2 separate regions of the Homo sapiens genome follow, and region 2 is linked to region 1. Evidence: promoter capture Hi-C in human tissues and cell types (Jung and others, 2019). All regions are on one chromosome and are shown on one strand. Each heading gives the region's core, a stretch centred on a gene start or on the middle of the fragment in contact. The rest is flanking DNA. Distances are from core to core; before and after follow the strand shown. Region 1 holds the start of BOLA3 (bolA family member 3). Region 2 overlaps TET3 (tet methylcytosine dioxygenase 3).

Region 1 (7,716 bases), core at 3,305-5,804:
ACCGTGTTAGCCAGGATGGTCTCGATCTCCTGACCTCGTGATCCACCCGCCTCGGCCTCCCAAAGTGCTGGGATTACAGGCGTGAGCCACCGCGCCTGGCCTGTTCTGTTTTTCTTATAATGTGCTCTAGGAGTCCAAGTTTTGGTTAAACCCAGGTTCTCAGCCTCAACTCCCCTTCTGCACTCTGTCCAGGACTGCGCAGAGCCACAGCTGAGTCAAGCTCTAACTCTGCCCTGGGCCTGGGGCAAGTTCAGGACCTGGTAACATCAAGGCCTCAGCATTGCCCCAAGACTCCTGCAGAGCCCTCACCTGATGTACCATTCCAGCAGATTTTTTTTTTCTTTTTGAGACAGAGTTTCGCTCTTGTCGCCCAGGCTGGAGTGCAGTGGTGCAATCTCAGCTCACTGCAACCTCTGCCTCCCAGGTTCAAGCGATTCTCCTGCCTCAGCCTCCTGAGTAGCTGGGATTACAGGTGCCTGCTACCATGCCTGGCTAATTTTTTTTTTTTTTTTGTATTTCTGGTTGAGATGGGGTTTCACCATGTTGGCCAGGCTGGTCTCGAACTCCTGACCTCAGGTGATCCACCTGCCTCAGCCTCCCAAAGTGCTGGGATTACAGACATGAGCCACCGCGCCTGGCCCCAGCAGATTTTTTTTTTTTTTTTTTGAGACACAGTCTCGCTCTGTCACCCAGGCTGGAGTGCAGTGGCATGATCTTGGCTCACTGCAGCCTCCGCCTCCCGGGTTCAAGCAAGTCTCCTGCCTCAGACTCTTGAGTAGCTGGGACTACAGGCGTGTGCCACCACGCCCAGTTAATTTTTGTATTTTTAGTAGAGACGGGGGGGTTTCACCATGTTGGCCAGGCTGGTCTTGAACTCCTGACCTCGTGATCCACCTGCCTCAGCCTCTCAAAGTGCTGGGATTACAGGCATGAGCCACTGCTCCAAAACCCCAGCAGATCTTTAGATTGATTTATTTCCTGTGGTTTCCAGAATAAAATCTACTTTCTAAACTTTCTCCTCAATCCTTGGAAATGTTATGTTCTCAGTAAAGTCAGTGAGCCCTCATGGCAATGCTGAGTGGCAAAGGCTGCCTCTGGGTATGGAGAGATTCAGACTGATGCCTATCCAGCGGCCCACGCCACGGGCCGTTCTGTGTGTACGTGTGTGTGTGTGTGTGGATAAAGGGCCTATCTTCCCCATCCTGTGGATGCAGAAGTTGCTTCTCCAGCCTGCTCCTAACACACTGCCAGCCTGAACTTCTAGGTGCCAGTGGCCACCTGAGAAGGACAGCGCTTGGCTGGGGCTGGTAACTGGGCTTAGGACAGAGTCTCCCCTGAGTCCCGGTTCTGGTTCCAGTTCCACTGTCTCTTCCCTATGAGGAGCTAGGCAATTCCTTTGGCCTCTCTGGGCTCATTTCCTCTTAGGGAAAGTAAAGCAGCTGAAGAAAATCTTTCTGGGGTCCACTCCAGCTCTGATATCCTAGGGTGTCAGAAGAATGGGGGAAAATTAGAGCAAAACCTATTCAAAGTCAAATGACAGACTGTGGACCTCAGCTCTAGGGTGACTGAGAGGGACCTTGTCTGAGCTGAGCCAGGCTGGCAACCTTGAGTCCTCCCAGCTGCGCCTTGTCCTCAGTTTCCCTCTGATATTTCTGAATCCTGACTGCCATCCCATGAGGTGGGGGCAGCCGAGCTCCACCTGTCCAGCAGCAACACATCTTGAGAAGCCACTCACCAGCAGCAAGCCCCCTCCTCCAAGCCCCTGACCCTCTGTCCTTCCAAAGGGCAAAATCTTATCCAAGCGCCGTAGGAAGAGTGAGAGAAACCTTACCTGAAATGTCAGTGACTTTTATAGCTGTAGCTCGTGGAAACTTTTCTTTGAGAATTTGGGTCACTCTGAGCTCCCCCTCAGTCTGAGTGGCAAACATCCGATGGTGAAGTGGAAGCTGCCACAGAACAGAGAGGAAGGTCAGGGCAGAGGAAGATGCTGTTGCCCCTGAGCTGGGCCACTGTGCAGGCCCGCCTGCCATTCCCCCTGCAAGGCAGGCCCCTGAGCCCTCGCCAGCACAGCCATGGGTTATGTCAGAGGGGCTCTGTGGTATCAGGAGTCCATGTAAGTGCCCCAAAACACAGAATAAACTTTTATTGGCGGGGACAGGATGATTGTTAATAACTCAATTTGACTCCAGAGACAAGAGGCCCCAAACCTAATTCAAGAGATGTTTGCTTCCATATAATGTTGTGACACTATTATGCCGATAGTTTTATAGGTAAGGAAACTGAGGCACACAGTAATGTGCCCAAGGTTGAATTCGGTAAGATACAGAGCCAGAAAAGCTGGATAGCCTGCCTCAGATCCATACCACTAGGCCATCCACTGCCCTGGATGGTGGGGCCAAATTCCACACTCCCTCGCCTTTAGGCCTGATTAACATGTCTCGCCCTCCCCAGTGGGATGTGACCTCACAGCCCACTGCTCAATTAGCCAGCTATCCTTCATCATGCACTCCTTCTCACTGGGAGCAAAGTCAGAATTCTATGAAAGAACCTGAAGAAGGAGTATCTGTAGGTTGTTTACCATTGGCAACAACACCCCTTCCCCAATGGCTACCATGGGGGAACCTGTGTTTGTGTTTCCTTTTTTTTTTTTTTTGAGACAGAGTTTTGCTCTGTTACCCAGGCTGGAGTGCAGTGGCACAATCTCAGCTCACTGCAACTTCCACCTCCCGGGTTCAAGCGATTCTCCTGCCCCAGCCTCCTGAGTAGCTGGGATTCCAGGCACCCACCACCACGCTCGGCAAATTTTTGTATTTTTAGTAGAGATGAGGTTTCACCATGTTGGCCAGGCTGGTCTCAAACCCCTGACCTCAGGTGATCCACCCACCTCAACCTCCCAAAATTCTAGGATTACAGGCATGAGCCACCACGCCCGGCCAGGGGAGCCCATGTTTCTGATGGAACACGTCTCAACAGTTAGTAGTGAAGGAGCAGAAAAGCAGGTCGGCAGTCACTTGGCTGGGCTGAGTGCATGCTGAAAAGGCAGACTGGGAATGGAGTGTGGCAGGCCTTGAATGCCAGGCTAAAGATTGTGGACTGTATGGGACAGGAGATGGGACTCCAGGTGATAGAACCCAGGCTCATGGGACCAAAGTAACCTGCAGGAAACAGTGCCTTCTGGAGCGAGTCAGGAGAGATGCCCAAGTAAGAGGCATTACAATGATGGAAGCACCGGGCACTGGTCCCTGACTAGACGTGGATGACAGGTTGGAGGACACTAGGGCCGTTCATGGGTGCTGGTGCTGAAGGTCCCACCCCTCTACCCCTCAGTCCTTCCTGATAGCTCAGAGCAGGGTCCTGTGTCACAGAATCTCAGAGCACCTCCTTTAAAATGAGCTGTGCACTGGCTCTCTCACCACTGGTCTTATAGGCCAGGAATGAGTCCGGCAGCATCCCAGAGCTGACCCCAGGGCAGGCCCTCAGAGGCACTTGGTGCTGGATGAATGAATGAGCAGGGGAAGAACTAGTCAATTAGGGACAGAAATGCAAGACAGGAGAAAGGTCCAGAGTGTGATTGTCTGCCTGCTGTGTGGAGGGACAGAAACTCGATGTTGAGAGGCTGGACAGGATTGCCAGGAGTGAGGGTGGGGTGGAGCTGCTTCTGGGGGCAGAATCTTGAGGGTAAAGGCAGAGAGTAACCAGATGGCAGACAGAATCGGCAGCTACTAAGGGGTGAGAGAGGTGAGCGTTGCAGAATCCTTGGGAGAAGCCTTTCATCTTAGCGGATCTGTGGGCAGCGGCCTTTAGTGGAACAATCAACTGACATCCCCAGATGATCACTGTCCACGCTGAAAGTCACCGCAGTGGAAGAACTTCTCTTCATGCACAGGGCAGGCAGGTTCAGAACCAGGGGAGAAGGAAAATGAAAGTTAAGAGAAAGAATGGTATGAGCTGAAGCAAAGGATGGTTCAGAAAGGGGGAGAGATTAGGAGAGCGCGTGGGAAGTGCCCCCTGCTTGGGTTCTGCTCCGGTAGTGTGGGATTTGGAGGAGGATCAAGGTCAGAGGCCCAGTCGACCTTCCCAAGGCCCCGGCCCCGCTGCAGTCCCTCGCACCCACGCCTTGACTCTGGGCTATGACTCCTGTCTTCTGCTCGGTAAACCAATCCTTTTTTTTTCCTGTGCCCGCAGTATTATGACTGTTCATGTGTCTGTCCGCCTGACCTCCAACCTCCACCCAGCTCGGGAGCTCCCCTAGAGCGCGCCAGAGCTTGAAATTTCGAATGCCGTTGTCGCTGAGTGAATGAATGAATGAAAGAATGAATGAGAGAAAGGAAGAGGAGCCCCCCATTGCCAGTGCCGCGCGCGCCCTCCGGGAGCCAGTCCTCAAGCCCCGACAGCCGCCGGCCCCGCGGTCCCTCCGCAGCTCCCGTCCCGGGGAGAGCAGCCCCGACCCTGCCCACGCTCACCCCGCGGATCCCGCGGAGGAGAGGCGCTGCCGCGGCCGGGCTCCATGCAGCCATGCCCGGCCGACGTGACCCGCCGCCCGAGGTCACTGTATGCCCGAAAGACGCGGAGCGGGGGACCGAGAGCCGCCGCCGTGGGAGAGGCCGCCCCCTGCCGCCCGGAGGCCGTCAGCCTCCCGGCCCCGCCCCGGAGGCCTCCGGTCGCCTGGCTCCGGCCCCACCCCGCCATCCCCTGGCCCTGGCTGACTCGCCACCCCCGACACTGCAGCGCCTGCCGACCTCGGGGCCCCGCCCTCTGCCTTCGCTCGCGCCGCTCTCCTTCAGTCTCCCCAGGGCCTGTTTCATGGATAGGGTCCCCTTGCCCGCGTGAAAGTCTCATTCCTCCTCAGCTCAGAAACACTCCAAGGTCTCGGCGCCCTATACTGGCCTTCCCTCATCCGAATACCCCTCGTGCTCCTGATGTACTTTTCCATTCCCACTCCCTACTCTGGCAGTCTAGCTTCTAAGCTGAGGAGTTTGGCCTTCGCTCCAGGTGCGGGGACTCGTGGAAGGATTTGATTCGCGCTTGAGAAAGATCGCTCCGCTCCTGTAAGGAAGAGAGCGTGTAGGGGCTGCAACCAGAGACACAGTCAGAAGCTCCGAGGCTACCGCGATGGTCCAGGTGAGAATGGAGGGGCCTAACTAAACCAGTGGCGGGAGGGATGGAAGAATGAACTGAGACACTTGGGAGGTGAATGGAATCGAGCGACTGCATGTGGAGGTGTGAGTGGGAAGGTATCTGAGATGACTCCAGTTTCTGGCTTGGACAATGACTTGGATGGAGGGTTAGGTGGGGGCTGAGCAGAGTCCACGAACAGTTCTTAATTTGCCTGAGTTTAAGGTGCCACAGGACACAGCCTAACAGAGGCCCAGGTTGGAGCCATGGACCATGGAGTCATGAGAATGGAAGGGAAGCTGACGCCATGTGGGATGGGGTAGAACTGTCCGCAAATTCGTCCCGCCTCTGGAGTCTTCAGACCAGTCAAGGCCGAAATTCAACCAAGCCTCTCCTCTCTCTAGCTGTTATTTGTTTGCAGCACGCGGTCTGGTGGCACCCTGCAGGATTTACCAGCTTTTTGCCAACATTCTGGCCTATGCAATCAATACGTCCCTTCAGCGTTGCACTTGGATGGATTGGACCTATAGTTGTTATATATGGATATTGTCTAATTTATTTATTACAGTATTAACTGACTCCTATGTTCTGGCCTTCAGAATTTCTCCTTTGGATCAATTACTAGCCTGTCTTACATTTTCTGCTTCATTCTTTTAAAATGTTTAGAGATGATTTGCTAAGTTTTCTTCATTGCTGTCAATGATGCAATTTAAACTGTCAAAAAAATTTTTTCTCAAGCAGGGTAGTAATGGTGAACCATTCCCTTGCTATTCAGACAGCATGGTTTAGATGAGGCGCACCTATCCCCAGCTTTAGGAATGGAAACAGGACCCAAGTCTGGCTAATCAGAGACTGGTTTAGGGTCGGCCCCATGGTCTGAGCCAGACCAATGAGAATTGGTAGAGGGACTTCCTTTTGCAACTTCTATTTTAGAATCGGGGGTATATATGCAGGCTTGTTACAGAGGTATATTGCATGGTGCTGAGGTTTGGAGTATGAACGAATCCGTCCTTCAGGTAATGAGCATAGTACCCAATAGGTAGTTTCAACCCTTGCCCCCTTCCTCCTTCCCCAGTCTTGTATTCCCCAGTGTCTGTTGTTCCCAGACATTGATCTTTTTCCTCTATGTTGCTAAGCTGGTAGAAAGGCTGGAGTTGCTGGCAACCATCTTTGCAACCATGCAGGGAGAACTACTTTGGAAATGAAGCAAGATAAAGAAGAAAACAGATAAAAGGAGACAAATGTTTGACTTTGTACAGCTGGAAACCAGCAATGCTGGAAATGAGCACTGAAGGCAGTTTAATGGGTTTGTCACTTGTAACCAAGTGACCCATGGCAAGCTCACAGATTTGTATTGGCAGAATTCCTCCTTTTCTTTATTTAAAATGGTACTTTTGGCCAGGCAAGGTGGTTCACACCTGTAATCCAAAGACTTTGGGAGGCCGAGGCGCACTGATCACCCAAGGTCAGAAGTTCGAGAACAGCCTGGCCAACATTGGCGAAACCCCATCTCTACTAAAAATACAAACCATTAGCTGGCTGCGGTGGCCTTTCTACCAGCTTTTTGTCTCAAAAAAAAAAAAAAAAAAGGTACTTTTGCTTATCTCTAACCTTCCTCTTCCCCATAATTTAACAGTTGCCCATACTATCTGTTACTCTGAGCTACTCTCTGCCCCATTCTCCTCCTCTTATCTTCAGTTCCTCCTAGGCTGTCAGAGCCATCTGAAATGAAAACATTTAGGCCGGGCATAGTGGTTCATGCCTGTAATCCCAGCACTTTGGGAGGCTGAGGCAGGCGGATCAGCTGAGGTCAGGAGTTCAAGACCACCCTGGTCAACATGGTGAAACCCCATCTCTACTAAAAATACAAAAATTATCCAGACATGGTGGCACATGCCTCTACTCCCAGCTACTTGGGAGGCTGAGGCAGGAGAATCGCTTGAACCTAGGAGGCAGGGGTTGCAGTGAGCCGAGATTGAGCCACTGCACTCTAGCCTGGGCGACAGAGTGAGACTTTGTCTAAAAAACATAAATAAAATAAAATGAAATGAAAACATTTGCTACTTGAAATCCTTCAGATTCCCCATCGCCTACCTACAGGCAAAACTCTCAAGTTCTTTTGTATGATTTAACCACTATCTACCTGTCCAACTGAAATCTACCCTTCAGTAATATTATACTTGCACCTCCCTTCATAAGCTATGCTACAAGTTTGGTTATGCAGTTGCCCACCTTTTAAGGTTCAAGCCTTGTCTTCTCCAAAGAGCCACCTCTGACTGCCTCACAGTAAGCTTAGGGCCCGCAACTTACCTGTAACTTTTGTTGCACTTATGGCCTTTTACAACTATCAATTTATGTATGTGTCTGTTCTCACTGGTTTATAAGCTCCCTGAGGACAGAGCCTTGCTTGAGTCATCTGTCAGCAGCCCAATATGGGACAAAAAGTGCATGCATTGTAATTACTGAACAGAACTGATAGAGGCTCAGCAATTTGCGCTCCATAGGTCTAAGTTTGAACTTTTCTAGAAAAGGATTTGCAGGACGATCTGACGAATCTTGGGCTTCCAAATTAGTTCCAACAGTTCTAGTATTTTTTTTTTT
Region 2 (7,716 bases), core at 3,037-5,536, 59 kb before region 1:
GTAGTCCCAGCTACTCTGGAGACAGTGGGGAGAATTGCCTGAGCCCAGGAGGCAGAGGTGTTAGTGAGCTGAGATCGTGCCACTGCACTCCAGCCTGTGCAACAGAGCAAGACTCGGTCTCAAAAAAAAAGAGAAACAGAGGCAGAAAGTAGAACAGTGGTTTCAGGAGGGGAGAATGGAGAGTTCCTTAATGAACAGAGTTTGTTGTGCAAGATGAAAAAATTTTAGAGATGGGTGGTTGTGATGGTTGCACAGCAATATGAACATACCTAATGCCACTAAACGGTGTACTTTGAAATGATTAAAATGGTAAATTGTTCGTATATTTTTCCACAGCAAAAAAAAAAAAAAGAAAATTGGAGCACTCATGTTTTTGGAGAGGGATTTTATGTAAAATCTGGATTTCCGTTTTTTTCTTCAAAATTGGAAGAATTAGCCTCACTGGGCTGGAATTTCCCCCAGGCGGTAGTTGATGGCAATAAGGCCTGGCCTCCCCCTGTTGATGGGGCAGATGCTTTTCACTTTGCCACGGTCCACACCACCCACTAGTCTTGCATCCGGCCCACCTTCCTCATTTGTATTGCCTGCCTGGCTACCCCTTTCAGGGTCTCCCAGCACGATCCACTCGTGACCAGGTCTGTCTGCAACCCAGCATCTCCTGACCTCCAGACCCACTCTGGGGGGTATCCTTAGAGACCACTCAGGTGCTCTAAGGCAGTGGTCCCTAACTTTTTGGCACCAGGGACTGGTTTCGTGGAAGACCATTCAGGCATTAGATTCTCAAAAGGAGTGCACAACCTAGTTCTCTCACATGCGCAGTTCATGCTCCTATGAGAATCTAAAGCTGCTGCTGATCTGACAGGAGGTGGAGCTCAGGCGGTAACGCCCGCTCGCCTGCTGCTCACCTCCTGCCGTGCAGCCCAGTTCATAACAGGCCACAGACCCAGTACAGGTCCGCACCCTGGGGGTCAGAGACCCCTGCTCTAAGGTACCTCAGCCTCAGGATGCTCCCAGTTAACTTGCCAGTAAACCACACCCATGCCCACTCAGTCTCCTGAGCCACAAAGTGTGGAAGTCACTCAGGGTTTTTCCTTGTCCCTCAGCCTCAGGAATCCATTCTTCTCCTGTTTTCTTACCCCTTGCCATAGTTAGGACTTTATTCATTTTGCTTGCATTATGTCAATGGTGTTCCAGCTGGTCTCCCCGTCTTGCCCTTCTCCCGATTTTCTGCCCCCACTTTCTAAAGCATGAAACTCTTTATGTAAGCCCCCTGCTCACCATCCTGCGTGGAGTTCCCGCCTCAAGGCCCTGCCCCTGGGCCTGACACTCGGAGCCCTTCCCAGTCTACCCTCATCCTTCCCCTGCCCACAGGCCCTCACATCTTATCTGGTCATGGAATTATCTGGCATTCTCTGGCAATTTTCAGCCACCTCCTTCCCCAGCTCCCAGGCCTCTTGGCCCTGACATCTTTTTATAAACCAGGACAGTGTTTAGGAATTAATGAGAACCCAGACCTCAGACCTGGATCCTGAGCAGCAGAGCAGTGGATGCCCAGGGCTCTCGCTTAAAAAAAAAAAAAGTAGCTTTATTGAGATACAATTCTCGTACCATACAGTTCACACATTTGAAGCATATAATTCAATGGTTTTTGGTGTAGTACATTTTTAAAATTGTGGTAACAGTGTATAAACAGGCTGGGTGCAGTGGCTCATGTCTGTAATCCCAGCACTTTGGAAGGCTGAGGCAGGAGGATCACGTGAGCCCCAGCAGTTCAAGACCAGCCTAGACAACATAGTGAGACCCTGTCTCTTAAAAAATTTTAAAAAGTTAGCCAGGCATGGTGGCGTGTGTCTGTAGTCCCGGGTACTCAAGAAGGCTGAAGTGGGAGGATCGCTTAAGCCCAGGAGTTTGAAGCTGCAGTGAGCTATGATCATGCCACTGTACTCCAGCCTGGGCAACAGAGTAAGACCCTGACTCTAAAAAAAAAAAAAAAAAAAAAAGTTTGTGTAGAAATAAAATCTAACATTTTAACCATTTTTCAGTGTACAGGTTGGTGGCATTAAGTACATTCACGTTGTTGTACAAGCATCAACCTAGTCTATTTCCAGAACTTTTTCAACATCCTGTACTGAAACTCTGCACCCATTAACAATAATTCTCCATTCTCCCCTTTCCCAGGCCCTCGTAAGCTCTAATCTACTTTCTGTCTCTCTGAATGGAACTGTTCTGGGTGTCTCATGTCAGTGGAATCATGTACTATGTGTCCTTTTGTGTCTGGCTTATTTCACATAGCATGTTTTTGGGGTTCATCCATGTTGTAACATGGATCAGAATTTTGTTTCTCTTTAAGGCTGAGTAATACTTGGTTGTCTGTCTATACCACGTCGTACTTACCTGTTCATCAACCGATGGACCCTGGGGGTGCTTCCACCTTTTGGCTGTTGTGAATAGTGCTGCAGTGAACGTGGGTATTCAGGGATCTGCCTGAGTCCTGCTCTCAGTCCCTCGAGTGTATTCCTAGGCATGGAATTGCTGGATCATATGGTAATCCTATGTTTAGCTTTTGGAGGCATTGCCAGACTGTTTTCCACAGTGCCAAGCCCCTTGCATGTTAACTAAAAACACACAGGTAGGCAGCATTTTCTCTGCAAATGTTTTAGGATAACATAAAAATCTGACTGTATTTTGGCTTACAATTTTTATCTGTGTATTTTTACTCCTAAGCCTATGTAAGTCATCAGCAACTTAGATTTTGTGGTAATTATTTTTTATTTCACTCTCAAAATAACTTTTATGTTTTTGTTCCCTAACAAAACATTTGTTCCTAATAATGTTCCCTATTTGTTCCCTAATAATGGTCTCTTAGCTTGTAAGGTTGCTGTCTTCAGGGCATGACATCCCTAGAACCCTGCCGTTAAGACCTGCACCCTGGGTCTGTGTGACAAAGGGAGGGGTGGCACCATGCAGAGGAGCACGGGTACCTGGCTCCTGCCCCTCACACCCTGCGTCCCTGCAGGTGATCCGCAGGCACACGCTGGAGGAGAAGCTACTCTGCCTGGTGCGGCACCGGGCAGGCCACCACTGCCAGAACGCTGTGATCGTCATCCTCATCCTGGCCTGGGAGGGCATTCCCCGTAGCCTCGGAGACACCCTCTACCAGGAGCTCACCGACACCCTCCGGAAGTATGGGAACCCCACCAGCCGGAGATGCGGCCTCAACGATGAGTATGTAGCAGAGGGCTTCAGGGCCAGGGCCCACCTATAGGGTCCTGGGCAGCAAATACAGGAGACTGCAGGCAACCCTGGGGAAGGCTCCTAGGGGCCCTCTCTGCGGCACTGTTTGTCCTGCACAGTTAGGACTGTGGTTGAGGAAGGCATATCCACAGATCTTGCTTGAGCTGGGTTCTAGCTCTGGCTCCAGAGGGTCTACTAGTTTGACTTCACCGTTAAACCCCAGGTCGATAACACTGGCACTAATGATATTAGCGAGTGTGAAGTACATGTGCCCCATAAATAGAAGGTATCGAAGATATTTACAAAACCTGCCCTTGGCCAGGCGTGGTCCATGCCTATAATCCCAGCACTTTGGGAGGCCGAAGTGGGTGGATCATAAGGTCAGGAGTTTGAGACCAGCCTGGCCAATACGGTGAAACCCCATCTCTACTAAAAATAAAAAAATTAGTCAGGCGTGGTGGCACACACCTGTAGTCCCAGCTACTCGGGAGGCTGAGACAGAAGAATCGCTTGAACTCGGGCGGCGGAAGTTGCAGTGAGCTGAGATTGCACCACTGCACTCCAGCCTGGGCAACAGTGAGACTCTGTCTCAAAAACAAAAACAAAAAAACCCTGCCCTTATCAGAGTTTTTCCCATTTTTAAAAATGAAGGTATATTTATTTACAATAAAATTCATCCTCTTAGGTATATAGTTTTGACAAATGTTTACAGTCACGTACCTACCACCACCACAATTAAGATATGCAACAGGGCTGGGCATGGTGGCTCATGCCTGTGGTCGCAGCACTTTGGGAGGCCAAGGCGGGTGGATCGCCTGAGGCCAGGAATTCGAGACGAGCCTGGCCATCATGGCGAAACCCTGTCTTTACTAAAAATATAAAAATTAGCCAGGTGTGGTGACACATGCCTGTAATCCCAGCTACTAAGGAGGCTGAGGCATGAGAATCACTTTCACCCAGGAGGCAGAGGTTGCAGTGAGCCAAGATCGTGCCATTGCACTCCAGCCTGAGCAACAGAACAGGATTCCGTCTCAAAAAAAAAAAAAAAAAAAAAAAAGACATAGAACAGTTCCATCTTCCCCCCGAAGTGCCCCATGCATGCCCTTTATAAGCAAGCCCTCCCCTAGCCCTGGGCAGTCACCGGTCTTGTTTCCTGTTCCTGTAGGTTTACCTCTGTGAGAATGTCACATAAATGGGATCATACAGGGTGTAGCTTTCTGAGTCTGGCTTCTTCCATTGAACATAGTGTTTTCAGTGTTCATCTGTGTTGACGTGTGTGTCAGTAGCTCGTTCCTTTTTATCAATGAGTCGTAATCCACTGTGTGGATCTATCATAGTTTGCTTATCCATCCCCCAGTTAGGGGCACTTGGGTTGTTTCCAGATTGTATTAAGCGTTAATTTTCATCTCAGTATACTTTGTTGAAAGGCCTGTTAGCATCTGGGCTATAGGAAATAGACACGTTCAAACCCTGGGGCTCACATCATTTCCCTGTTCATATGGCCTGTCCTGGAGCTGGTTAAGATATTAAGTTAAGGGAAAGTATAAACGTTAATGGGTTTTTACCAGATTCTTCCCCCTTACTTCCGTAAACCCATGTGCTACTCCCAGCAACAGACTCAGTGTTAGACCTGCAGGCTCGCAGTGGTGCAGGCAGCAGAGGCTGCTTAGATCTGGCTTCCTACTCAAGGAAACTTGAGAAAGGGGTTGGGGGTGGGGAAGGATGAGTCTCAGTCACTGGGAGGCTGGTGGGTGCCAGGGCTCAGCAGGGCCACCCCTTGAGGGAGGAGGAATACTCCAGAACGAAGGGATATTGCATCTATATCCCTGACCTGTGCTGTGTGTTGCAGCCGGACCTGCGCTTGCCAAGGCAAAGACCCCAACACCTGTGGTGCCTCCTTCTCCTTTGGTTGTTCCTGGAGCATGTACTTCAACGGCTGCAAGTATGCTCGGAGCAAGACACCTCGCAAGTTCCGCCTCGCAGGGGACAATCCCAAAGAGGTGAGCAGAGCTGGGCGGGGACCCTGCCTCCCATCCTTTCTCGCCTGGCGTCCTTCATGGTCCAGCGGGAGGTAGTACTGGCACGCCATGACTCAGATGCACAGGAAGTGGAACTTGTTTTCGTTTTTTTAAAAGCTGACCTTATCTTGCTGTGAAATAAGGGGTGTGTGGAGGGCACCAAGTGTGAAAAATTAGACTTAGCAGTTACGGGTGCCCCAGGCTCTTCCCATGTAAACCATCTCTTTTAGGTAAATACTCCAAATATCGAAGATACATATTCAAATCGCTTGTCAGAATTTGGCCCTCTCAGAGGTCATTTCTCCCCCCCATCTTCCCAGGACACCTTTCTAGGTGTGAGGTTTAGCAGGAAAGGCGGTCTCCCGCATGTGGGCCATCCTCTGGGCCTTTGCTGTACTTCCCAAGGTATCTCCCACCCTGCCTGGCTGCCGGACAGATGTCTCTGGGCAGTCATCCGGGCCCTTGCAGTCTCCATGCTGGGGGCCTGGCCTGGTCCCTGGGCTCTGGACTGGTGTCCATACAGTATGACCGCTAGGCACGGCACCTTCTCTCTGTAGGCTCCTTACCCAGACCCCTGCCCTGCAGGGCCTCCCCCAGCCCCAAGACAGCAGGGGAAGGCGCCCTCAGGCTGTGGGGGCCGGAGCATCTGCTCAGGCCGCCTCCCCTCTGTTGTTTGTCCTCTGATGCCTGCATGGCAAAGGCCCTCCTGAGAGGCGGTCTCCACTCAGCTCCAAATGCAAGGAAGGCACAAGCCTATCCAGGTTGTCTGCCATTTTACCTTCCTTCTGCCTGGGCTCCTGAGCGGGTGGAGTGCTGGCTTCCTTTGCTAGGATACAGACAAATATCCAAATACGTGAACTCAAGTTGCAACCTTCCAAATCTCTCCAAGCTCCTAGTACCAGAAGGGCTTCCCACTTCCCGTGGTGCAGGGACACCCTCTCTACACCAAAGCCTATGTCACCTTCTGTGCTCTGACTGCCAAGCTTGGGTCCTCATAAGAAAAAGGAAGCATTTTCAAATTCAGAACTCTTTGTTTACCCCAGACCTGGCTTTTAGACTTAAATAGTCTAATAGACCTGTATGCAAATAGTCTAATTTGTTATTAGATTTTTATTTACGGTAAGATTCACCCTCCCTTACAAGCAGCAGATGTGGTTGCTTCAATGAATGGAGCCCTGGGGCTACCAGGACCTAAGAACTACTAGGAATGGAAAGACATTGGCTTAATTTCTCTCAAATTCTTTCCCTGTTCTACCAACTGCCACTTCCTGTGCTCTTACGATGTGCTAAGCACTTTGCCAAGCCCCTCATAGGTTTCTCAGATGATTTCACGACCCCTCCATCCCAGTGATCTAGGCACTGTTACCCCTCACTTTACAGATGAGGCAGATGGCTTCCTTAAGCCCATGTGGCTAGTTCATGGTGAAGGCAGGTTTGAAACTCAGGCCTGTGTGTCCCTAGAGCTCACAAGCCTCACCCCCTGCTGTGCTGGTGGCAGCATCTGGACATCAGGCAGGGAGGTGGCCTGGCATCACTGGCCCAGGCTGGCCTGGTCAAGAGTGGCTGGCAGCCCTGGCGACCCCACTGGATGTACAGCTGAGCTGTGGGTCTCCACCTTCCATTTCTCATTCTGTGTGCTTGGTTCTTTTTCTCTTTCCTCTCTTCCTGCTTTCTTCTTCATAAACCCTTTGTGCCTGTGCTCGTGGTGTCCTAGGAGCCCTTCAAGCCCTGCTTGTTTTCGGAGGGCCAGACAGAGGCTGTGGATACCTGGAACTCTCTGCCACATGTCACCAGGGGCTGCTGCTTCACATAGAGCAGTGCTGTCCCACAGTACTTTCTGTGATGTGTGGAAACATTCTCTGCTGTCCATACAGGAGCCACGTGTAGCTGCTGAGTATTTAAAATGGGACTAGTGCAACCAAGGGACTGAATTGCTTTAATTTTTATTAGAATTCAGGCCGGGCATTGTGGCTCACGCCTGTAATCCTAGCACTTTGGGAGGCCAAGGTGGTTGGATCACCTGAGGTCAGGAGTTTGAGACCAGCCTGGCCAACACGGCAAAACCCCATCTCTACTAAAAATATAAAAGAAATTAGCCGGCTGTGGGCACCTCTAATCCCAGCTACTCAGGAGGCTGAGGCAGGAGAATTGCTTGAACCCAGGAGATGGAGGTTGCAGTGAGCCAAGATAATGCCACTGCACCCCAGCCTGGGTGACAGAGTGAGCCTCTGTCTCAAAGAAAAAAAAAAATTAGAATTCATCTGTATTTCTGTAGCTTCATGTGGTTTGTGAATAACATTACGTAGTACGAGTCTAGCAGCTGGAGCTTTGAAGTCTGTCTGTATTCCTGGCTTATGACAGGCTCTGGGCTGGGCTGGGCTGGGCTGGGCTGGCTGTGGAATTTCTAGCATGGATCCTGCCTGCCTTTCTCTTCCTGTCTGTAGCCTGGGAGGAAAGATCCACA

Evidence for each region. Contacts are between HindIII fragments. The study calls those that stand out against the background at their distance.
Region 2: a fragment that was not itself captured here is called in contact with the fragment with the promoter of BOLA3 in region 1 in 1 of the 25 tissues and cell types used here (adrenal gland).

Annotation. Positions count from the first base shown.
Region 1 is chr2:74,143,358-74,151,073 of GRCh38, forward strand. BOLA3 (bolA family member 3) reads right to left here and starts at 4,555. Exons shown (of 4, transcript NM_212552.3): 1 at 4,464-4,555; 2 at 1,832-1,946. The coding sequence starts at 4,517. It overlaps BOLA3-DT (BOLA3 divergent transcript), which reads left to right and starts at 4,624. Exons shown (of 3, transcript NR_045636.1): 1 at 4,624-4,866; 2 at 4,993-5,121; 3 at 5,341-7,716. RefSeq lists a silencer at 4,296-4,775 and an enhancer at 4,309-4,968. The HindIII fragment of the contact is 14,937 bases long and covers 1-7,716 here.
Region 2 is chr2:74,084,814-74,092,529 of GRCh38, forward strand. TET3 (tet methylcytosine dioxygenase 3) reads left to right here. Exons shown (of 12, transcript NM_001287491.2): 7 at 3,017-3,225; 8 at 5,084-5,234. Among named protein-coding and RNA genes, the nearest start is that of BOLA3, 59 kb to the right of the region's middle. RefSeq lists an enhancer at 901-1,400. The HindIII fragment of the contact is 8,521 bases long and covers 27-7,716 here.